4 separate regions of the Homo sapiens genome follow, and regions 1, 3 and 4 are each linked to region 2. Evidence: promoter capture Hi-C in human tissues and cell types (Jung and others, 2019). All regions are on one chromosome and are shown on one strand. Each heading gives the region's core, a stretch centred on a gene start or on the middle of the fragment in contact. The rest is flanking DNA. Distances are from core to core; before and after follow the strand shown.

Evidence for each region. The method cuts DNA at HindIII sites, captures the fragments that hold promoters and counts their contacts. A contact is called where the count stands out against the background at its distance.
Region 1: a contact is called between a fragment that was not itself captured here and the fragment with the promoter of COMMD3-BMI1 in region 2, in 2 of the 25 tissues and cell types used here (dorsolateral prefrontal cortex and hippocampus).
Region 3: a contact is called between a fragment that was not itself captured here and the fragment with the promoter of COMMD3-BMI1 in region 2, in 2 of the 25 tissues and cell types used here (heart right ventricle and mesendoderm cells).
Region 4: a fragment that was not itself captured here is called in contact with the fragment with the promoter of COMMD3-BMI1 in region 2 in 2 of the 25 tissues and cell types used here (aorta and lymphoblastoid cells).

Annotation. Positions count from the first base shown.
Region 1 is chr10:22,605,051-22,611,000 of GRCh38, forward strand. It overlaps PIP4K2A (phosphatidylinositol-5-phosphate 4-kinase type 2 alpha), which reads right to left. Exons shown (of 10, transcript NM_005028.5): 2 at 4,570-4,667; 3 at 2,877-2,973. Among named protein-coding and RNA genes, the nearest start is that of PIP4K2A, 110 kb to the right of the region's middle. RefSeq lists enhancers at 43-192, 5,495-5,950. The HindIII fragment of the contact is 6,591 bases long and covers 1-5,950 here.
Region 2 is chr10:22,312,527-22,318,379 of GRCh38, forward strand. It overlaps COMMD3-BMI1 (COMMD3-BMI1 readthrough), which reads left to right and starts at 3,862. Exons shown (of 14, transcript NM_001204062.2): 1 at 3,862-4,030; 2 at 5,358-5,469; 3 at 5,579-5,642; 4 at 5,746-5,780. The coding sequence starts at 3,892. It overlaps COMMD3 (COMM domain containing 3), which reads left to right and starts at 3,862. Exons shown (of 8, transcript NM_012071.4): 1 at 3,862-4,030; 2 at 5,358-5,469; 3 at 5,579-5,642; 4 at 5,746-5,780. The coding sequence starts at 3,892. RefSeq lists a silencer at 3,720-3,839 and an enhancer at 4,110-4,409. The HindIII fragment of the contact is 4,167 bases long and covers 3,484-5,853 here.
Region 3 is chr10:22,040,052-22,046,114 of GRCh38, forward strand. No RefSeq gene overlaps it. Among named protein-coding and RNA genes, the nearest start is that of DNAJC1, 39 kb to the left of the region's middle. RefSeq lists an enhancer at 2,549-2,843. The HindIII fragment of the contact is 9,284 bases long and covers 1-6,063 here.
Region 4 is chr10:22,766,637-22,772,855 of GRCh38, forward strand. No RefSeq gene overlaps it. Among named protein-coding and RNA genes, the nearest start is that of PIP4K2A, 55 kb to the left of the region's middle. The HindIII fragment of the contact is 4,037 bases long and covers 667-4,703 here.

The sequences.
Region 1 (5,950 bases), core at 1,427-3,926, 290 kb after region 2:
TTTTCAGCTGGAACTCAGGGTCCCTGACCCTACTGAAGAATTTTAAGAGGTACAGACACTGGGAAAGAAATATACGACTGAGGAGGGAAGAAGAGTATACCTCTGCAGTACTGAAGTGACTCTGAATACACACTTTTTCTTTCTTTTTTTTCTTTTTTTAATAGAAATACAGTTGCCAAAGAGAAAGCAGCAGGCAGAGCTAAGGAAAGGAGGAGTGTTCGAATGATTAATCACACTCACACCACTCTCCCCAACAGGGAGCTCTCATGTGAAGAGTTTAACGGACTTGCCAATTAGTTACTTGTGAATCATCCTCCACTTGCCTAATTTTCTTTCAAAGTTTGTACTCAGCAATTTGTACTGACTTCAATATCAACTTACGTAGTTTTCTTTGTAGGGCGAAAAAAAGGGAAGGAAAACCAGTTCATGTCTTTGCATTTCAGCAACTAAATTGGTCATTTGAGGAAATTTTAAAAACTACTTTTCTCTGCTGCAGTGCAGAACTCAGACCATAATGGGTTCATTTTGGATCTCATTTGACAGAATTGATTATGACAAGAAATAGAAAGACTTCATTTCAATAATGAATTGAGGAATCTAACAAGATAAGATAGATGCATGGGCCCTCAAAAGTCAGTTTCTGTGAAATGCCAGTGGAATTGTTTTATTAAAACAAAACCCAGCCAAACAAAAAAAGGACGTGGAGAGAAGGAGGAACACACTGGTGTTCAGCTTTTCTTAAGGCAGAGGAGATTTTCTTAAGACACTGAAGCTATCTGCTGTTAATTCCTTTAAAAAAAAAAAAAAAGCACCTAGTTCATTTTCAGGTGGCCTCTTTAAATTTAGTAATGGTTCTAAAGTGATACAGAATTATTAATTTTAACTTCAGAGAAATGCTTTTTACTATTCTAATAATTTTCTGTTAAAGTTAATTATTTTTACAGCAGTAAATTTCAAGTCCATAATTGTGATCTAAGTTCTCTCTTAAAAATTAAGCCCCAAGGCCAGGTGCACTGGCTCATGCTCTGGGAGGACGGCTTGAGGCCAGGAGTTTGAGACCAGCCTGGGTAACATAGTGAGACCCCAATCTCTACCAAAAAAAAAAAAAAAATTAGCTGGGCATGGTGGTGCACACCTGTAGTCCTAGCTACTCTGGACGCTGAGGTCGGAGGATCACTTGAGCCCAGCAGTTTGAGGCTGCAGTGAGCTATGATCACACCACTGTACTCCAGCCTGGGCAACAGAGCAAGACCTTGTATCAAGAAAAAAAAAGAAACGCCCTAACAGGAGTGTTGGCTCCCACGCAGTTTTAATAGCAGATGAGCAACCACATCCTTCCTGTCCCACTAGCCAGCCCTCAGCTCTTCTGTGTACACAGAGCCTCAGCTCAGGGTCTGGACCTCCATGTAAACCACAACCCCAGGCCATCATGAGACAATGTCACCGGCAGCCTGGTCAGCGCTGCTTTCTCCAAACATGGCAGCCTCTCTCATGCCTGAGTAAACATATGAAAAATTCCTGGAAATTTTTGGCAATGGTACAGAGAGGGCAGTGGGAGCACAGATCTTTAGGAAAGTGTGCTAACTATCTCAGTTTGCCTGAGGGACCCTATTCTTCAGAGGAAAATACAGGGTAAGCTGTATCAGTACTCAATCTGTAGTCACCCAGGGTGGCAATATGTCACTTAATGCAGGATAAATTCAGATCTTAAATTGAGGGCAGATTAGGACTAGATTTGAAGGGACTTAAGTCAGTATATGCTGAGCATCCTTTATTTGAAATGCCTGCAGCCAGTCGTATTTCAGATTTTTTCAGATTTCAGAATATTTGCAAAGATAATGAGATATCTTGGGGATGGGACCCAAGTCTAAACACGAAATTTATCTATTTCATATACACCTTATACACATAGCCTAAAGGTAATTTTATACAATATTTTAAATAATTGTGTACATGAAACAAAGGCTGTGTTGAGCACTTAACTGTGGAATTTTCCACTTGTGGCATCACGTTGATGATCAGAAAATATTCGATTTGGAAGCATTTTGGATTTCAGATTTTCTGATTGGGATACTCAACCTGTCCCTTGGATTTCCACTTTTAAAAAAAATCCTTAGCATTTACGAATCTGGCTCGCTATATGAAACTTGGGTAACCAATGTCAAATCCTTTCTCAGAAAAAAATGATCATGGCTCAACAGTTATTTAAAGAGTTAAAACAGATGTTTAAAAGTTAGAATGAAGGACCAGGCCAGTGTGGGGAGGAGAGCAGCAGTGCACATTTTTACGTGGTGGGAATCAAGATGAAGAGGAAGATGTACCACAGGACACGCCCAGGATGTTGGGTTCCTGGTGCTGACCACAGTGCTATGGTCACTCCACAGTCCAGCACTGCAGTGCACAAAGGGTGCCCTTTGACAAAAATGCTGCAGCAAGAGTCTGACCAACTTGAAAAGCAGCAAATCAGCAAGATAAAGATTCCTGAGAGTCCTAAGTAGCCTCTACGAAGATACAAAACATGCACACTCACACAGGCTACTGACATGTCTGACAGCAGAAATTAACAGGCAGCTCTGCTAGCCTGTTAATTTCCACCTGGAAATGAGAGTATTATATAAAACCCTCACATGCTCAGTCTCCTTCCAAAGAAAAGTAATATATTTTCCTACTGACTTTTATACCGGTATCATATGTATAGAGGTCCCCAATCAAGAGAACACTTTACTTCAGCATGAACATTAAAAACTTCTTACACAAAATGAAAATTACTATTATATAATACTTTTATTGACAAAAATACAGATCCCAATTGACACAGCAAAAGTCATGGCAAAACCCATTTCCTACTGGAAGCAAATGTTACAAACGCAACTCACCTGGAAATCTTGATCATCAATTCCAAACCTCTCCCGCAGGTTACGGAAGACCATCGGGCAGTATTCCTTAAACTTGAAATGGCTCGGCATGTTTTCTCTGAAACAGTCACAGCGTGGAATAAAGCTCAGAGAGAGTCAATCAGACTTGCATCTGCCACCACTGAGTTCCACAGGTAGCCAAAGAAGGGTTCAGAGTTCACTGCCTACCAAAAGCACAGGTGTGCTTCCTAGAACCAGGTACAACCCGCAGAAAGATCCAGGAGACACAGGGGGCCAGACGGATGTCTGTCTGTCTCCTTTGTCACAGGCACGCTTGGACTATGTGACCTCTTTAAATCCTGGCCACACACTGCAGCCATTCCTCAAAGAACAAGAGGTGGGGAAGGAACGGGCCAGGCAGGGGGAGCAGTGAGGGAAAAGCACAATGGCGGGAGAGTGAGTTAGGAAGAGGCAGCGGAGCAAGGTTCCCTCTCAGCTACTGCTGAGGAAAGGAGGGCCACTCCCTCACCCCCCTAAAAGGCCTGTTTTATATAAATGCCACATTCTAAATTTGCTTAGAGGAAATTCCCTGAAAGTCAGCTTCTAAACACTGTTATGAGAAAAATTAACATCAGCTTCACATAAGGACAATGGCCCCCTGAAGAAATTTCATAATTGGCCTGGCATGGTGGCTTACACCACTCATTTGTAATCCCAGCACTTTGGGAGACTGAGGTGGGAGGATTTCTTGAGGCCAGGAGTTTGAGGCCAGCCTGGGGAACATAGTGAGACCCCTGTCTTTACAAAAAGTTTTTTAAAAAATCAGCTGGGCATGGTAACCTGCACCCGTAGTCCCAGCTATTCAGAAGGCTCAGGAAGGGGGATTGCTTGACCCCAGGAATTTGAGACTGCAGTGAGATATAATTTCACCACTGCACACCAGCCTGAGCAACAGAGCAAGATCCTGTCTCAAAAAAAAATTTCATAATGATCCTCACATGGGAGTGATTTGAGGTTCACCCTAATCATTCAGAATTGTTTCCCTCTTTGTGTTCCCACACAACCAGATAAATTAAATTATACATATGCACACACCCCTCCCTTATCATACTTTGCACACTGAACTATAGCAGTTTGTATATGTGTCAGTTTTTGTACTCTGAGCCCCTTGAGGGCAGGGCCGTGTCTTCTATATCATTGCATCTCTAGCTCTCAATGGACCACCTAACATATAATAGGTGCTTCATAATGACGTCTAAAACAACATTCAAATGAAGGAGGAATGTTATCAATGCCCAACATGGCATCTAATTGTGCCTTATGAAAATGTACCTTGGGTCTTTATTGTTCTAAGATGGAGTCATTGCTGTTCATAAATCATCATTTTCAAAGTTCTGTGTACAAGAGCAGAGGTTCATAACTGCTCAAAAATCCAAGCAATTTACAGCTTCAAAAATTTGAATTATAATGAGAATATCACTTTCAACGTATAAGATATTCATAGAGAACAATATGCCATATGGCAAAGGATATTATCCCAGAGAGCCTGCTGTTGCTTCTCTAAAAATGACAGATGGTTATGTTTATCACAGGATTAACTTCATCAGCAAAACTTTACTCCCACCCATTGACAAATTATGTGATTACAAAAATTCACAAAACTTGTACTCCTAGCAGCCACGCTAGTCTTATGAAAGGTCATACTTGTACTTACTTGTTAAAAAGGTGATTGTCCACCTTTATTTTTGAATAGGCTTTGAAGTCATCTGGCATCAACATAACAGGGATTTGAACATGGCTCAGTTCATTGATCTGGAAAAATATAAAATAAATAGCATGGGTTATTACTATCCAGGTGAGGAGGACTTGACTTGAATGTGTACCTTGGGAAAAAAAACATGGTGGACACAGGAACTTCTCTTCCCACCCACCAACCCACCCTCCTTCCCTCTGCCATCATAATCTCTCTTCCTGCCTTCCTCATTCCCACTTCTTATGTCTGTCTGATGCTGGGTCCATGGTGGCCACCGGACGGCAGTGGTGAGGGAGAGTCAATCCTCATGCCACCTGTCCCTGCTTCTTGCCCATCCACTCTCCCTACCTTCCCTCCACAACCTCATCCCACAGACCCTTTGGTCACATGTCCAGGACAACTTCCTTCTGTAAAGAAAATGTTATCTGAGAAAGAAAGCTTTTAAATTTTTCACGTAAATATTTGTTGGATTAATGGACGTGATTTATATATTGAACTCATCTGTGTGCTCTTTACTTCCCTTACAGGAACTAAGTTTAAAAATAAAGATTGGGGTGGGGCATGAATTTACCAAAAGAAGAACCTCCATTCAGGGAAGGAAGAAGACACGTGGTCCCAGGACTACAAGAGAAGGAGGTGGGTTGGACATGAGTCAAGAACAAAAGCAAAGATGTGTTTCCAAAGGACAAAGGGTAAGATCAAGTTCCAGTGAATGAAAGGGACAGCTTTGGACACAATTTTGAAAAACCTGAACTTTCTCTTCGTTAACTATTTTTGCATGTTGACTTTCCTTGTTGCTAGCAATAAAAACCATGTCAAAGATTTATGCTTCCAGTAGGATAGAAGGCAGGTACGCTGAAGGATTCTCAGTTACAAAAACAAAACAAGCAAACAACAAAAGAATGAGCTGCTTGATAGAGCTATTTGTTTTTTTTAATCACATTGCTGGGTTCACAGACAGTAGAGGCAATCTCCAAGACACCTTTCTTCCCCCAAAGTGAGTTTAATCCACAGGGAGTGTGGGGACCATTAAGCAAGCCTGAAAGGAGGGACTCCGAGGACAAATGCCAGTTTCAACACTTACTTGGGCCAAACGAAAGCTGGGAGCTCAACAAAGGCTTCAACGTTAACCTGAGATCCTTGAAGGAAGCCTTTGAAAGTGGCCCCAACACCTGGTGGAAGTAAATGTAAATGATCTCCGGAGGAGAGCAACCCCTGCCAGGCCTCCAGGCTTCCCACAGATGAAGATCAATCAAACATGAGCTCACAGAGACAGCAACGACTAATTAATATTTTCAAGACTTTAGTTACTAAGATGATCAGATATAGAATTTTTTAAGCT
Region 2 (5,853 bases), core at 2,612-5,111:
TGACTTTTTAAAACTTAGATTTAAAATATTTAATTTTTCTTATATTTTGAAGTTTTATGTTTTATATTTCCCAGATAAAACTTACGAAAATGAAATATTTAAAATGGTACCGGCCGGGTGCAGTGGCTCACGCCTGTAATCCCAGCACTTTGGGAGGCCAAGGTGGGCGGATCATCTGAGGTCAGGAGTTCGGGAGCAGCCTGGCCAACATGGAAAAACCCCCATCTCTACTAAAATAAATAGATAAATAAATAAATAACATAAAATGGTACTAAATGATGACAATATTAAATAGAAATTGTACTATTTACCATTTAATATAAATTTATTCAAAAAAGTTTTAGGGGAAAAATACAAAACACTTGTGCCAAATCATAAGCGTAAGTTATCTGTTTTAGAGAACACTGTATCATTAATTTTAAACCCTGTGGTTACAGTTTATTTAATGTAATTTGTATTTCATTTCCCTCACACATTTTTAAATCCACATATGCAAATTAAACTATACAATGTGAGAAAAGGTTATATTTGTCCATATCAATTATTGCAGCAATGACTGTTTAGAAATAATTAGGGATTGGATTACATGTTTAAATTGAAAATAAAAGCTTTACTGTCCCCTCTGAATACTCAGTTTGGTGTCTCACAGTGTGATATAAGATGCAATTTGAGACCACTGAACTCTGTGATCATGAATGTGCAAAAACTTGACCATTCAAATTCCAAGTCACAAACTATGCCTTGCCAAGTTATTTAATAAAAGAATATAGACAGGTTTTATAAACTTCACTGAAACAGTTTTTGACTTATACTCTCAAGTGTCATATATAACTCAGTTAAATACTCCTTCCAACTGTCCATTTGTGGTTAAAATAGCTTTAAAACAGTAAAGACTATTTTCATTAACAAATATCTCAGAGTTTAAAGTAACCATCAAAGCATCGGTGTTAGGGAACACAGAGAGAATGGTTTCTTATTTAGAGGTAGTTTCTAAAGTGTTCTAAACTTTCTTCTCTGTAGCATATGAGCAGGCAGGGATAAAACAGATCCCCACTAGAATATATAATAAATATATAAGCCAGTTAAAACTAGTCTTTGTCTCGATGGCACTTAAACTTATTATTTTTTCTCCCCATGGAGTTCCATGAGCTCTTCAATCTAAAGGAATATCTTCCTTCAGCGTTATTTGCACAAAAGCAAAAGTACTTATACAATCTGAAAAAGAAAATATTGTAATTCATAACACTAACAAATGCAGCAATGAGGCCTGTGGGAAAAGCTGACCACATAGATCCGGTAAAAGCCCTAGCCTATTTAATTGTAATCACAATAAAGGGACCAATATTAAATTTGTTTCTAAAAATATTAACCAGTTCAAAGGATATCAAATGTACTTGAAACTCTAAAACATTGTTTAAAAAGGTAACTTCTAGTTCTTCAAATGATTTCTAGATTCTCAAAAAGAAAAATAAATTTATCAGCATTGTCTACCTAATATTTGCAGTTTAGGAGGCAAGATATATTGTTAATGTGAAGATGGTTGCATCTGTATTTTGTTGTTTTCAGCTGCACATAATTGTTCTTTTAAAAGGCTTTTGGGAAGCCAAATTTAGTTTACTGGCTTTGAGCATGCAGAATTTTTTAAAGTTTAGTCAAAGTTCCAATGCTGTTTTGAGTAAAGCAAAATTTTAAACAGTATTTTCATACTTTCAGAATATGTTCATATGTAGTTTTTCTAACATAAAATGCATTGATCTTTATGGCTGTAACCAAGAGAGTCTACATCTGGGTAGTCATGCCTTTTGATGATCATACTTCCATGTATTTCAATGACTTGTCAAAGACACACGTTTGAAACACTCGATCCTGTGCCTCCTTCAAAGGAAGTTTAAATAAATATACCTGTAGTAGGAAAATTCCGTTTTTCTAGCATTAGAACACATTATGGTGAAAATTTTTGTGAGCTTAAAATGTGCCCATCACTTAGGCCTAACACATGAATATACTTAGGCCTAAGAGGAGGAAACATTCTAAGAGAAAGTACTTATACATGGGCAACAAAGTAATATGACAGCTATTATGGAAACAATCCTTCTGAATTTCCTAACTTTCATGCCCACAAATTGACAACCACTTGTGTTTATTTTTCTTTTAAAATAATATTTTAAAATCTATGTCCATGATTAATACTCTCTTTTTTGACACTAAATTGAGTATTAGAGTTATCAACTCAAATTCTATTAGAGTATTAATAATCAACGTTACACTAGGTCATAAAATACATGTGTAATAAACATAATAAGCTTGGGTGTTGTTAATATTGTTGAACATTTACACAACTCTGTCCTGACTATTCTCTATGTAATCAGGTATCATGAAGTTTTTCAACTGACATTTTACTACTAATGAGAAACAAATTAGGAAGATGAGTGATGGGAAGAAAAGATGAACATGATTAATAGGTGCTTGTTTCATAAAGACTCTAGGGAGACTTTTAAATCCTTCACTGCTACTATATTCTCACCGAGTGAGGAGCCACTGCACGTGCCTTTTAAAGCTTTCAAAGGAGGGCTGAGTAGTTACTCAATCTGTTACTGATGCTTACTCCATTTGCATCCTGTTGTGAAATGAGGTACACTTTATGTATTGGTGCCAAGGTAAATGTCAACTGTATCCATCAAAAATTTTTAAAACAGACATCTAAGTTAGAAAAAGAAAATAATGTTTCACTTTGGGTCTAATGTTGCAAATAATCGCTCCTGAAGACTAAAACATCTTTGTTGTTCCGCATCCCTTCCCTCCACCCTTCAAGAACTTGCATTTTTTAACTTTTCAAGTGCTTTTGATTAAAAATACCTAATCTACTTTGCTTCACGGGTTTTTTAAAGAATCATTCTTGTTCTCTAAACCAACTTCGTAGAAATAGAGAGGAAGTTAAACTTTATACAGTATTTGAATCTTTAAAGGTATGAGCATCCTAAACAGTAACTCACTTCTAATAAAGATCTTGCCATTCCTAACTGTACTTTACTAAGGTAGCTGTTTAATAAAAACGTATTTATGCAGATTCTATAGAGCAACTAAAACGGGACCCATAGATGTGGTGAGTAGCACAAAATGTGTATGGCAGTTGGCTTTATTTGCAGCGGCATATAAAATTGTTAATAATCCTGTCAAATCTGTTCATGAATAATTTATTAATCCGATTGCTGGAGTGCAGTGCATACAGGAACTCTATGTATGCGTGCATGTGTACACACCCCCCATGCAGGAAGGACACTACTGCCGTATTCCAGAAATGACAAAAAAAAAAAAGTAAAAATAAGCAAGAATCACATAATTAGATGTCTTACAGTCTCATAAAAGGGCAGTGCTGCGAGGTTAAGCTGGTGAGCTAAAAAACAAACAAAACAAACAAAAAACCACAAAAGCAAAATCCAGTTGCCTGAGATCGGAGCTTCCCGCAGGATTCGCGCAGAGCGAGGAGCGGGGAGGACGCCGTTTGCGGGAGGCGGGGGCCGGGATCCCGACACCGTCCGCAGTCTCCCCGGGGTCTCTCAGGGAACCGAGCTGGTGGCCGTCCGAGGTAAGCGCCGAACCAAGGAGAAAGCGCCGAGCGCGTCCACAAAACGCCCGAGGCCGCCCTTCTCGCCAAGGCTCGGCAGCTCCCGCGGCCTGCGCTGGACAAGCGAGAGCTGGACGGAAACGGTGGGAGGCCGTAGGCGGCGGCTGGGGGCGCGGGACCCGCGCGCGGGCGCGGAGGCGGGCGGGGAGGCCCCGCAGCCCGCGCCGCCGCCAGCCGCCCCGAGCCGCGTGCGCGCGCGGCCGCATCAGCTGAGCGCGCGGCGCGTGTCACGTGGTGTGCGTGTCGAAGGTCACGGCGCGCTCACAATGGAGCTCTCGGAGTCTGTGCAGAAAGGCTTCCAGATGCTGGCGGATCCCCGCTCCTTCGACTCCAACGCCTTCACGCTTCTCCTCCGGGCGGCATTCCAGAGTCTGCTGGACGCCCAGGCGGACGAGGCCGTGTTAGGTAAGCCGCTCGGCTCGGCTCGGAGCTGGATCCGCCGGGGTGGAGGGGCGCTCGGAGAAGAGGAGCCGGCGGAGCGAGAAGGGGAAAGCCCCGGGAAGAGGAAGTCTCCGGGCTTTGCCCTTCGCTCCGGACGGAGTGTTGGGGACGTGGCTCTGCCAGGACTCGGAGCAGACTCTGAGCATTGTTTTGGCCCCACTTGGCACCTGCATAGAGCCAACTCCACGTTCCTGGCCCGGTTTCCCTCCCAGTCTCTTTGTTCTTTTGTAAAGCCGGTGTTCAAGTCTTGTTTGTGGCCTAAACATCTAAGGTGTTTAGCCTTGTCTGAGGCTGCGGCTGTTTTGACAGTTGGACTTCATCTGGGGAGCTCCCTGCAATTCAAGCTTCCAGGGCTAGGCTAGCAAAGGTTTAAGGGTCTGTTTCCGAAGTAATTACTAGGTCAGACAGTGTTGACATTTGCCAACTTAGAGCATACCTCAAGTTGCTATGATCACTCCAGCGCTCTAGTTCAGCATGTTTACACAGGTTCTACGCCTAGAACCTTAAACTATGATGCACAATACTTTGTTCCGCCCCAGTTACCAGGATGCGAGTGTCTTTTAAGCGATCCGGTCAGTGACTGCGGAGGTGCAGTGTCAGTATGGATTGAAGACATATTTTAAGACCGATCGCTTTTAGATGATTTTCTTAAATATAAATATCCCAACAATTCAAATTTTTGTTTTTTTTCTGTAGTTTCATGAACTAAACACTTGTACAAAAAGTATGAAAGTGGAAGTTCTTAAACGAAAATAGTAACCACCACCTGGGTTAATCTCAAAAAAAAAATGACTGTCAAACCCTGAAAGTACTAATATAATTTTGAAATTTGTATCTTATATTCTGAACTCATGCCCTACCTTCTACCCCCTTGATGTATTTGTTCATGGAGCCGGTTACCCTAAACTCATCATTTTTAGGATGGAAGTTTATTCTAAAATTGACACAATGTAAAATATTTATCTTGTTTTTCCTTTGAATTTACTCCAGTGTTAGAATGACCATTGCATTGTTATATTTTCTTTGGGGGCTATAATATTTTTTAATAGTAAAAATATTAAGGCAAAATAAGTTAATTGAAGCTAGTAATAGTAGAGTTCTTGTTGTGTTCTTTTTATTGTTTTTCACTTGATCTTGTTGCTCATCTCATTTACTTATAATTGACTGTCCTTATAGTTGATGTTTTTAATCTTGTTAAAGGGTTTTTAAACCCAAATTAAAATATCCTTTTTGGAACATGACTGTAAAGAATTTATTATCATAGGCATCACTGGAAGTTAATTTATTTTAGATCATCCAGACTTGAAACATATCGACCCAGTGGTTTTAAAACATTGTCATGCAGCAGCTGCAACTTACATACTAGAGGCAGGAAAGCACCGAGCTGACAAGTCAACTCTAAGGTACAGGATTTATTTAAATATCCATTTATTTTCAAATACTACCTTAATGATTTCAATTTCAGTTTTAAAAATGGAGACAGAACTTTGGCTTTTTTTTTCTTTCTTCTAGCACTTATCTAGAAGACTGTAAATTTGACAGAGAGCGAATAGAACTGTTTTGCACGGAATATCAGGTTACTTACTTTAAAATTTTTAATTAACAGTACTATTTTTCTTTTACTTTGTTTGTAAAGATGTTTTTTTTTCTTTCTTTCTTGCTTTCTTTTTTCTCTCCAGAATAATAAGAATTCCCTAGAAATCCTACTGGGAAGGTAGGTACTGTATAAGGTGTCAAGCTGAGGCACTTTTCACTTGCAGGTATGAATGGAGAGTGTTGGTGTGAAA
Region 3 (6,063 bases), core at 2,059-4,558, 270 kb before region 2:
TTTTTGTGGAGACGTGCTAGAGGCTCCAAGGGCTGGGCAAGCTCTGAAGGAGATATTTGCCTGGTTGGAGGTGCATCAAACTGTGTGCTTGCTGCCTTTATACCACCAGTCATGTTGGCATTCAGCAAGCATAGACAACTTGTTCTACTAATTATGGCAGTAATTCCACCACTGACGAGACCATGTTGATGTTCTGAACCTCAGAATTCTCTGCCAACACTGGGCATTATACCCTCATCTCTCTCAAGGTCTCAGAGGGAAGGAAGTTTCTACATGTGTCCACTTGGACTAGCCTGTCCATAGCCTCCCTTAAGAAGGCAGGACTCAGACTGGACATGGTGGCTCACACCTGTAATCTCAGGACTTTGGGAGGTTGAGGTGGGAGGATTGCTTGAAGCCAGAAGTTTGAGACCAGCTTGGGCGACACAGTGAGACCCTGTCTTACCAGCCCCCGTACCCCTCCCCAATAAACAAATAAATAAAATAAATAAATAAGAAGGCAGGACTCCTAGCCATTTGGCTAAACTGTCACCTCTGTAACTACAGTTCAAAGACTTCATATGCCAAATGGAGTATCTGTATAAATAAGTGATTTAAGTTACTTAGAACAATAATTTTTTGTCAAATTTTATTATGTGAGGATAATTAAAATACATTAATTAAAATTAAAACACATTAATTAAAATATATTAATCAGTCACAATGGCCCAGTGCTAAGAAGATAAATTCACATAAATTTTAAAGTTTTAAAATGTGGGTGTAATAACATATCATCATATGATTTAATGTGCAAGGGAAAAATTGTGAATATATTTAGATTATTCCTTGGTCTAGAACTTCGTCAAAATAAAGTGGAGATCTGAGGCAAGTGAGGACACAAAGAAAGTGAAGATGCCTTAGTACTGTGTTTCATACATAGTTGTAACCTACCTTTAGAGATAGTAAAGCAAAAAATTAGAATGATTTAGATTGTTTAGCTGGGAGAAAATAAAACAGATGGTATTCTGTTCTTAATTTGCAATGTTAAGAAAGGTAGAAGAGCATACATCTTTTTTTTTTTTTTTTTGAGACGGAGTCTCATTCTGTCACCCAGTCTACCAGGCTAGAGTGCAGTGCCGCGATCTCGGCTCACTGCAACTCCTCCCTCCCGGGTTCAAGTGGTTCTTCTGCCTTAGCCTTGGGAGTAGCTGGGACTACAGGCAAGTGCCACCATGCAGGGTTTCACTATGTTAGCCAGGATGGTCTCAATCTCCTGATCTCGTGATCCGCCCACCTTGGCCTCCCAAAGTGCTGGGATTACAGGCATGAGCCGTCGTGCCCAGCCAAGCATACATCTTTTAAATCCACAATCTTTCTTTCCATTCCTCAGCAGAAATTATGCTTAGAACATAGGAAAAGGGACTCAACTGGTAAATAAATGATCAGGCATGATTATTTTTATTCTTAAAATTCTTTCCTTGTTATAAAAGTAACGCACAGCATGTAGAAAGTTAGGAAAATATTGACCAACATGAAAAGAGAATAAAGGTTGCTCAGATGCTACTCAACAAAAGATAATTAACATTTTGGTGTATTTCTTTTTTTTCCTATCTTTTCAATTTTGATTAGGTAATACATTCACATGGTTCAAAAATTCGAAGTTACAAAAAACATACCCAGTCACCTAGGCATGGAGTTCTGCCACCTGGAAACAAGCAATGTATATTTCTCATGTATTTTTCCAAATCATTCCAGAGCTAATGTGTGTATGTAAAAACAGATACATGTAGTTTTCCCTTTTTCTTTTTTTCAGAAACTATAGCATACTATACACACTGTTGTGCAACTTATTATTTTTTACTTAACCATAAATCTTGGAGATTTTTCATATCAATCTACAAAGGACTTTCTCTCTCTCTCTCTCTCTTTTTTTTTTTACTTCTGTGTATCATCCAGTTGTATAGATATATCAGGATTTATCTGAGAAATTTCCTTTTCATGGATATTCATGGTTTTTTCCAGATCTTTTGCAATTACAAACAATACTACAATGAATTACCCTATTCCTGTGCCATTTTTCACCTGTATATCTTTTGGATAAATTCCTACTGTGAAAATACTAGGTCAAAAAAAAGGTTGGCTAGATTCTGCCAAATTGCCCTCCAGAAAGGTTCTAAATTATTTTCAATCCATATTTTCTTTTATAATTTATTATAATAAAAGGTATATGTTTATTATTTTACTTCCAGAGAAAAATTATGAGATCATGGAACTTTTCTCCCACTCACATCTCAATAAATGAATAAGATATAGAAATAGCATGTACACACAGAGAGTTATCAAACTAGAGAGGAGCAAACACTTCTCTAAGAACTTGGAAAACTGTTGCCAGACACAGAGGGTTGTAGGAATTAATAGGCAAATCCTCAGTTGCTTATTCAGAAATAGTGTTCATCATTTCTGTAGTCACCCATTCACCAAAGATTTATTGAATGCTTGCTACGTGCTGGAATACTAGACCTGTGATAGATTTTGCATATGCAAGAGTGAGAGAGAGAAAAAAGCAAGGGGAAGGTGTTGAGACAAAATTCTCCTCTGTGTTAACACCTCCACATTGGGGTTGAGCAGAGCTGATGGTGACAGGGTGTGGATAGGCAGCCCAGAAGGAAAGACACAGAAAGTTGCCCTGGAAATCCGCACCTCACGGCAGGGTGGTGGTGACTCAGCGAAATCCACACACAGTGCCAATCACATCGGTTTGTTTTTCTCTTGCTGGGAGGAAGATAGGAGAAGAATTGAGGTATAATATGAACTATCCCTAAACATTAAAAAGAAAAGTCTTGACAAAATAAAATGGGAAAAAAATCAATTAAAACTGCTGGAAACATACTGGGTGCATAGAAAGTCCCACACGAAACCAGTCTTTCGTTGTCCACACAAATAGTGCCTTAGCCTGAACTAGAAGCCCTACCTTTGTCCTTTCCTTTTCCCCTTACTTAGCGAGGAAAAAAGCTTTGGTTATAAAGAGTGGACAGGAAACACTCCCTTAAGGCTAACAGCTTCTGACAGTAGCCAAAGTTTAGCAACACCTGAATTAGAGGCATAATCAGGAAATAGAGGCTTTCCCTTCCCCTAGCACCCCTTCCTCAAGTATCAGAACAGACAGAAGTACACCCGATCTAGAGGAATAAACTCTAGTGCAGGCAGAACACAGACCCCAGAACTATCCCAAGCCCAGCCACAAGTGAGATAAGACTATCAATCTCTCTGTTAAACAAGACATCTAGTAGAATTACACGCATTTATTCTTTTTATCATGCAGGTGAGGGTAGAAAAAAAATGCTAGCAATGTTCTGCTGCTTTGACAGAACAATCTTACGAGTATTCATAACATATAGGAACACAGAAACGTCAATCATGACATGAAGACAGCATCAGGCTACTGAGTAAGACGACTCATCAGAATCACAGGGCTCTTTGGAGATTACTTTTAAGGAAATGGCAAGGATTTCTAGAGCCTTTGTTCATATTTTCCTTCCAAGGATAAATTTATAAGGCTAAAGAACAGAACTAGCGAGTATAGTTATAAATATTCACACGTCTCAATGCCACATCGAATCAGATTCTTTGGACTTGTTTTATGACACAAAGACGGTCAGTCTTCTGTAGCTGCAGAGGAGAAAGCACATTTCCTTCCTCTGTCTCTTAGATTCTTTTTGTGAATTATGAAGATTTGCTTTTTTAAGAGCCAACTCTGGAATTTTACTTGTAATTTAAAGCAAAAAATCAGGCCTGTGGAGCTCAATATTATTTAGGGAAATGGAGAAAAAGATGAGCATGATTTTACTAAGTAACATAATAAGCTGAAACTTATTATGAAGGGAAGATGCCAACTTGCGCCTTGATAAGGAAGGAAGGGGAGAATTCACCTGTAGTATAATTGGAAAATTAGAGGGCCCAGATAACCAAATTGCTTTTAGAATAAAGAGCCTCGAAGATAAACTCTGTTACTCAAGATAAACAGGAATAATTTATAATAATGAAAGGTTCATTTCAACTGGTAGCTTTGGTAATTTTAAATTTGTATGCACTTAATAACTTAGCCTTAACAATTGACAGATGAAGAGAAATAGACAAATCCACACTCATAATGTGGCATTTAATATAGCCACTCAGTAATTGATAGAGCAAATGGGAAAATAATTCCTAAAAATATGTATAATTTAAGCATCATGATTAATAAACTTGATCTAATAAACATATATTGAATACTGCATGTAATAAGCACATTCACAGAAACTGACCATTTACTGGATTGTAAAGCAGGTGTCAACAAATGTCACAGAAATGAAATAATCATAAGCATATTTCTTAACAAAATACAAGTTAAACATCAGTACCAAAAAAAGACATCAAGAAAACCTTCATATGTTTGGAAATTAATTAAATACACATCTAAGTATCTCAAGGGTTAAATAAGAAATTACAGTGGTATTAAAAAAATAGTTTGAACTGAGCAATAATGAAAATACTACCTAACAAAACTTATGAGATTTAGCTAAAGCAACATTTAAAGGAAAAGTATATTACAGGCATATATTAGAAAAAAGCTAAAAATTAATTATTAAAAATTAATAATTCAAGAAAATAGAAAAAGAATAGCAAAACAAACAAACAAACAAAAACAAAACCCCAAAGCAACAAAGAAGGTGGAAGGAAGGACATGATAGAAATAAGAACAGAAACTAATTAAATAGTTTCCATACACTATGGAGACAATAAAGCCAGAGTGATTCTCTAAAACACCTAATAAAATTAACGAACTTCTCGTGAGACCAAAAAAAAAAAAAAAAAGAGTGATAGCACAAACACACAAATAAATAATATCAAAAAAGAAAAAGAGAACGTTACTAAAAAAGTCAGAAATATTAAAAAAAAAGTCATTTGAACAATTTTATGCCAGTAAGTTTGAAAATGCAGATGAAATGAACATATTCTAGCAAAGCACAATTTACACAAACTATTGAAATAGAAAAACAGAATGGTGCTAAAATCAGAATGGCCTTTCAATACATTTGAAGTATTGAATTAAGGAAAATTTCAGGCTTCGATAGCTTCACATTGAATTCTGGCAGTCAAGGAACAAATAATTCTGATCTATTCTCATATTATACACAAACTCTGAGAGTAAAAAAAAGATAATGCTGCTAGTCTCATTTTATAAGGTTAGCATAAAGTTGATAGCAAGAGAGAAAAATTATAGGTCAATGTCACTCAAGAATATAGATAAAAAATTGTAAAAAAAATCAGCAAACTGAATCTAGCAATACATAAAAAGTATAAAGCAATATGACTGTGGTAGCCAGTCTCTAAAATAGGCCCCAGTGTTCACCACCTCTGGGTCATCCCCTCCCACATTCTATTAGGTACGTGACCAACAGAATACAGTAGACATGATGGTATGTCACTTCTGAGATTTGGTTATTAAAGACATGGTGGCTTCTATCTTTATTAATTTCTCTCTCAGATCATTCACTCTGGGGGAAACCAATTGCCATGTCATAAGCAGCCCTGTTGAGAGGACCACATGATGAGGTGTAAGCCTCCTGCCAACTGCCATGTTGATGAGCTTGGAACTGCAGCAATGGCTGACATCTTGACTTGAAACCTTACGTGAGACCTTCTGGATTCCTGACCCACAGAAGCTGCATGAGATAATAAATACTTGTTATTTAAGCTGTTGCATTTTGGAGTAACTTGTTTTGGAGCAATAGATAACTAATATATACAATAACTAACTTGTATTTGTTCCAGGAATGAAAACCTGGTTTGACATGAGAAAAATCAACTAATGAATTCCGCCACATTAAAGGAAAAATTTATATGGTCATCTCAGCAAACATACAAAAGTGTTTGATGAAATTCAGCATGCATTGGTAATTTATTTAAAAATTTTGCAAACAAGAATGAAAGAAAATGCCCTTAAAAGCAATGAAAATGAACAAACTAAAGCCTCATGCAACAATCATAAATGAAAAGAAATCAAAAGTAGGTGAAAATAAACTATGTTGTTTACAGATTCAT
Region 4 (6,219 bases), core at 1,435-3,934, 450 kb after region 2:
AAAAATATATTATTTTTTGAAAGCTTATTATTGTTCTCAATTCTGATTCTAGGTAGCCGCTATCTTGCTAAAATAAATAGAAACAATGTTTAACAACTTTTAGGTTGTGTTCATAACATGCCAGATTTTAAAGTAGCCCAGACAGTTACGAGGACCTCTGAATTTTCAGTCTAACTTAATATTTCCTGAAAGGTCTGCCAAAAACTGCAGAGGGGGAATGCCAATTTTAAGTGCGTGTGAAGTTGGGAGGAGACAGGGAGAACTTTGCCTCTTTCTGTTCCAGATTAGGATACATAAAGAGTCAAATTTATTCTGGGCTGCCCTTTGCTAGAAACTGACAGCCCAGGCAGCTAACTCCTGGCCTCAGTGGAAGTTGCCTTAAAATCAAAGAACCTGTCCCTCTAGGAGGTAGGAAGGAAGGGGATCAGAGACAAACTAGGGGGCTCCTTTGCATATATTTCCAGGGATCAATCGCTTGTTGATATAGCTGGCTTTGCAAGTAGATCACAACTTGAAGTGTTTGAAAAAAATTACTTCCTTTTTAATCTTCCAAAGATGTTTTTAATACTGTTTCTCAGCGGAGGCCAATGGTGGAAATACCAATAAAATCTGCTGTTTGAAGAGCCAGTCCTCCCTAGGTCCTGCATCCTAGGCTCTGCTGTGCCGAAAGCATCCTTTTCCTGTGTTCCATAGAAGTAGTGGTTCATTCCATTTATTTGGCATAAAGGATATGCTAATTGTATTGCTAAATATTATTTTTATTTGCAAACAGATGGGAGAAAAGTTAAAGTGTTGTTAAATATTTGTAGGCTTCTGTTCTGTCTCCATAACTGAGTTGTAACTTTAGAGCCAGGTAGTCAAGAGTGTTGGCTCCAGTCCCATTGCCTGGGTTTAATATTGAGCTTTTTCTTCTCCTAACTGTAACCACATTATCCAACTTTTCTAAGCCTCAACTTAGCCATTCGTAAAATGAGAATCATCACAGTACTTCCCTGTAGAGTTATTGTGAAGATAAAGAAGATAGCATGTAAAGTGCTTAGCAGATGTGCCAGGCACATTGGAAGCAGTCAGTAAATGTTACCTATTATTAATTAATGTGTCCTTTGAGTAAGGAAGGCGTTTCTACTGTAGCAGAGGCAAAATACTGTAAAATCAGATTCTATCAGGTACCTGGCCATCTTCCTTTTGGTGACCCAAGTTGATGGGGAATTTGGAAGGTAGTGGTGGTTTGAAGCTGTTTCCTCCCTGTCATCTATTAAGGGAAAAGAGAAAAAAGAAGAGTGGTCTGGCTCTGAGAAAACCAGGTCAAGCTTTGTTTCCCATTTAGACATTCTGTGTATAAATGCATATCATGATTCCCAGAATTCCTTCATGACAGCTCCCTGAGTTAATGGTCAAGGAGGATTTTCTCAGGCTAGGCATACCCGGATCTGCCTCAGAAGAGATCGCCAAATAGTTCCTATTTTTGGCCTTTGGCTTAGAAAAAGGGGACAAACTGCTTTTCTCAAAAAGCTTTCTGGGACATTAAACAACTTTTTTTTTTTTTAAGAAGAGGAGATTGTTTAAAAAGGAAACAGCCTAGAAGGCTGTCCAATTTCACTCTATTAGGATATAATTTTTTTCTCTTGTGTCCTCTTTCTTAGACATTATTCTTCTCATTTTTCTAGTTTGTCTCCCAGCATATGTAAGAAACATAAAGAGCCAATAGGAGGGCACTAAATTTTTCCATTGGCTTCTTGGCCATTGTCTGGGGGACTGATGTGGCTGCTGTGGCTGGGGTTTCACTCAGCAATGCCTTGGGGCTGTGTGTGTGTGTGTGTGTGTGTGTGTATAAGATGAAGTCAAGTCTGGGCTGGTCCAGAGTGGACTGGGAGTAGAATCTGGGCCATTGGTTGACAGAGGAACAAGCATGCAAAGAGTTTGGACTTTTGGACTCTCTTCTCATGGTCAGGCTTGCTGTTTCACCTCTGCCTTTAATACCTTCTCATCATATTCTTAACTGTCAAGACAATTCATTAACTTAAGGTTTGCCAAGAAGGCAGCACTGCTTCTGAGAACACACTCCTGGAGAATGAGTAGTCCCTTCTCACCTCCTTCTCGGTCACTGCTAGCTACACTTCCGCTGTATGGCATCTCTTTCTCACCTCTTCTTCCCTATCCTCAATTTTCTCCTGTTGTGTTTTCAGAATCTTAAAATTTTCTACCGGGTGCCTGTCTTCATTTCTCTTTTCTTTTTCAGTTGCAGAAAGCCCCTCCAAATTTTCTCTACTCTGAGGCCTCCTGATTTAGGACACATATAGAAAGTTATTTTACTTCTAGAGTCTCACCAAGAAAGGAAGTAGCAGTTTTGTTCATAACCAACAATCTCTTTTCCCTAAGAAGCAACAGTAACAATAACAACAATAGTGTCTTAGTCCATTTTGCATTGCTGTAACAGAATACCACAGACTGTGTAATTTATTTTTAAAAAAGAAATGTATTTCTTACAGTTCTGGAGGCTGGGAAGTCCAAGATCAAGCAGCTGCATCTCGTGAGGGCCTTCCTGCTGCATCATAATGTGGCAGAGGGCATTACATGGTGAGACAGAGCAAGCATCTTAGCTCAGGTCTCTCTTCGTCTCCTTATAAAGACATCAGTCCCATCATGAGGGATTCACGGTGACCTTATCTAATCCTAATTACCTCCCAAAGGCCTCGCCTCCAAATACCACCAACATATGAATTTGAGGACTAAGATTCCAGCACATGAAATTTGGGGAAAATATTCAAACCATAGGAAACAGTAACACACATAAAATTATGAAGAATCTACTCCATCTATGTATTTTTTAAAATGTCAAATAACATTTCAATAATTTGATTAAGAGCTTAAAGACCTTAGACATAAAAGCATTTCATTTTAAATGGTAATATTTATACATATAACAGTTCATGAAGGAAAAACACCTTTCAATGAAACACATCAAAATATATCCCCAAATGTGAATATTCTTGTGTTCTTTCATTCTATCATCAGAATTTTAAAATATACATTTATTTATTTCTTTTAGAGATAGGGTCTTGCTATGTTGCCCAGTCTAGCCTAGAAATCCTGAGCCGAGCAATCCTCCCAGCTCAGCCTCCTGAGTAGCAGGGACTACAGGCATGTGCTACAGAAGCCAGCTTTCCTGGAAATTTTAACCACATATAGGAAGATCATATAGTATTTTATTAAAGGGAAGCCTTTGGATCAGAGCAATCTAGGTTTAACTACTGACTTAGCTATTTGTACCCCAAACTTGAGCAAGCCACTTAACCTTTCTAAGCATTGGCATCCTCAGCCCTAAAATGACCCTCTTTTTTGGTGAGTATTAAAGGAGAAAATATACACAAAGCATATGGTACAGAAGAAGGTATTCAATTAAAGATAATCCTTATTCGTTGTGTGCCCAAAATATAGGCTAGGCACTAGAACAAAAGAAACAGGGCTTCTGTTCCCATGGAGCTTATAGGCTGGTAAAATGGCAGAGTTAAATAATGGCATATGGAGAACATCCTCCTCCCTTGGTTCTATTTTGCATGGCAGAATGTTTCCATGCAGCACAAAGCAAAAGAAAAGAAAATGTTGGCAATTACCTGGTAAATTAACCAAAGGAAAAGGCCAACCTTTTCTCTTTGCACACATTATACCCAGTGGCATTTGACAGATGCCTAAGAGTTATATTTGAGTCTTGCCCCCATAACCGTATCTTATTGGTCTTCAAGGCTAACCTATTCTGTTTTTTGAGTCCAGTTCCTTCTGTAGAAGGTTTTATAGTTTATAGCATCATCTGTTTGGCCTGACTTGCCAAAACATCCTCTAGTCTGGTTTACCTAGATTCTCTTATAAAAATATTTATTGAGCACTTACTCTGTGCCAAGTGCTAAGAATAGAAAGATGAAAGAGAAGTGCTATAATACAGGTCTACATCTAAAACCTGGGGTTGTGAGGGAACATGATTATATGAATGTTGAACTCAACAGAAAGATCTGTGCTGGAAAAAAAATAATTGTGGGTGAATGAGTCTCCCTAGGAAAACTGTAGAAAGAGAAAAGAATGCTAAGGATTGGACTGGGAGTCAGAGAGTGGGGCAGAAGGAAAATTTAAGGGTAGGCAGAAAAAGAAGAATCAAGGAGACTGAGAGGAAGCAACCTGCAATATAGAAAGAGACACAGAAAACAGAGAGGTGAGGAAAGCCGAGGGAAAGAATTATTTTCAGAGGGAGAGAGGGGTCAGAAATTTCTATCACAACTGAGAAATTACATGAAGACAGAGAAGTGTTTGATTGAGAACCTCGACATCCTTGGTGACCATATAGACATAGCTTCTTTTTCTTGGTTGGGGGTGGGGACTTATTAAAAATTTCCTTTAAAAATATTTAGATTCACTACAAGGAACTCAAACAAATTTACAAGAAAAAAAAAAAAACCCATTAAAAAGGGCAAACGTGGACCGGGCACGGTGGCTCACGCCTGTAATCCCAGCACTTTGGGAGGCCGAGGCGGGCAGATCACGAGGTCAGGAGATCGAAACCGTCCTGGCTAACACAGTGAAACCCCGTCTCTACTAAAAATACAAAAAAATTAGCCGGGCGTGGTGGCGGGCGCCTGTAGTCCCAGCTACTCAGGAGGCTGAGGCAGGAGAATGGCGTGAACCCGGGAGGCGGAGCTTGCAGTGAGCCGAGACTGCGCCACTGCACTCCAGCCTGGGCGACAGCGAGACTCCGTCTCAAAAAAAAAAAAAAAAAAAAAAAGTGGGCAAAGGACATGAACAGACATTTCTGAAAAGAAGACATTTATGCAGCCAACAAACATATGAAAAAAAAGCTCAGAATGGCCATTATTAAAAAGTCAAGAAACAACAGATGCTGGCAAGGTTGCAGAGAAATAGGAACGCTTTTACACTGTTGGTGGCAATGTAAATTAGTTCAGCCATTGTGGAAAATGATGTGGTGATTCATCAAAGATCTAGAACCAGAAATACCATTTGACCCAGCAATCCCATTACTGGGTATATAAGGAATATAAATCATTCTATTACAAAGATACATGCATGCGTATGTTCATTGCAGCACTATTCACAATAACAAGGGCATGGAATCAACCCAAATGCCCACCAGTGATAGACTGGATAAAGAAAATGTGGTAAATATACACAATGGAATACTACACAGCCATAAAAAGGAATGAGATCTTGTTCTTTGCAGGGACATGGATGAAACTGGAAGCCATTATCCTCAGCAAACTTACGCAAGAACAGAAAACCAAACACCGCATGTTCTCACTTATAAGTGGGAGCTGAACAAGGAGACCACACTGTCGTAGGGAGGGGAACAACACACACTGGGGCCTGTCGGGGGATGGGGAGGGGGGAGGAAGAGTATTAGAAAAAATAGATAATGCATATTGGGCTTAATACCAAGTTGATATGTTGATAGGTGCAGCAAACCACTATGGCACACGTCTGTCTATGTAACAAGCCTGGACATCCTCCACATGTACCCCAGAACTAAAAATAAAAATAAAAAAATTTACATTCATGGGGTACATGTGCAGATTTGTTATGTGTACATATTGTGTAATGGTGAAGTCTGGGCTTCAAATGAACCGGTCAACCACATAGTGAACATAGTACCCAATAGGTAGCTTTTCAGCCCTTGTCCTCACCCCTTCTGCCACGCTTTTGGAGTCTCCAATGTCTATCATTCCCATCTTTATGTCCATTTGTACCCAATCTTTAGCTCCCACTTATTTATTTTATCTTTTAGAGACGGTATCTTACTGTGCCACCCAGATTAGAGCAAGGTGGCGCCATCATAGCTCAATGCAACCTCCTGAGCACAAGCGCTCCTCCTGCCTTAGCCTCCCAAGCAGCTGGGATCATAGGCGTGCACCACCATGCCTGGAAAATTTTTTTGGGTTTTTTTTTTTTTGTCTTGCTATGTTGCTCAAGCTAGTCTCAAACTCCTGGCCTCAAACAGTTCTCCCACCTTGGCCTCCCAAAGTGCTGAGATTACAGTGTGAGCCACCTTGCCCAGCCAGCTCCCACTTACAAGTAAGAAGACATGGTATTTGATTTTCGGTTTCCACATTAATTCACTTAGGATAATGGCTTCCAGCTCCATCCATGTTGCTGCAAAGGACATGATTTCATTCTTTATTATGGCTGTGTAGTAATCCATGGTGTATATGTACATTTTTA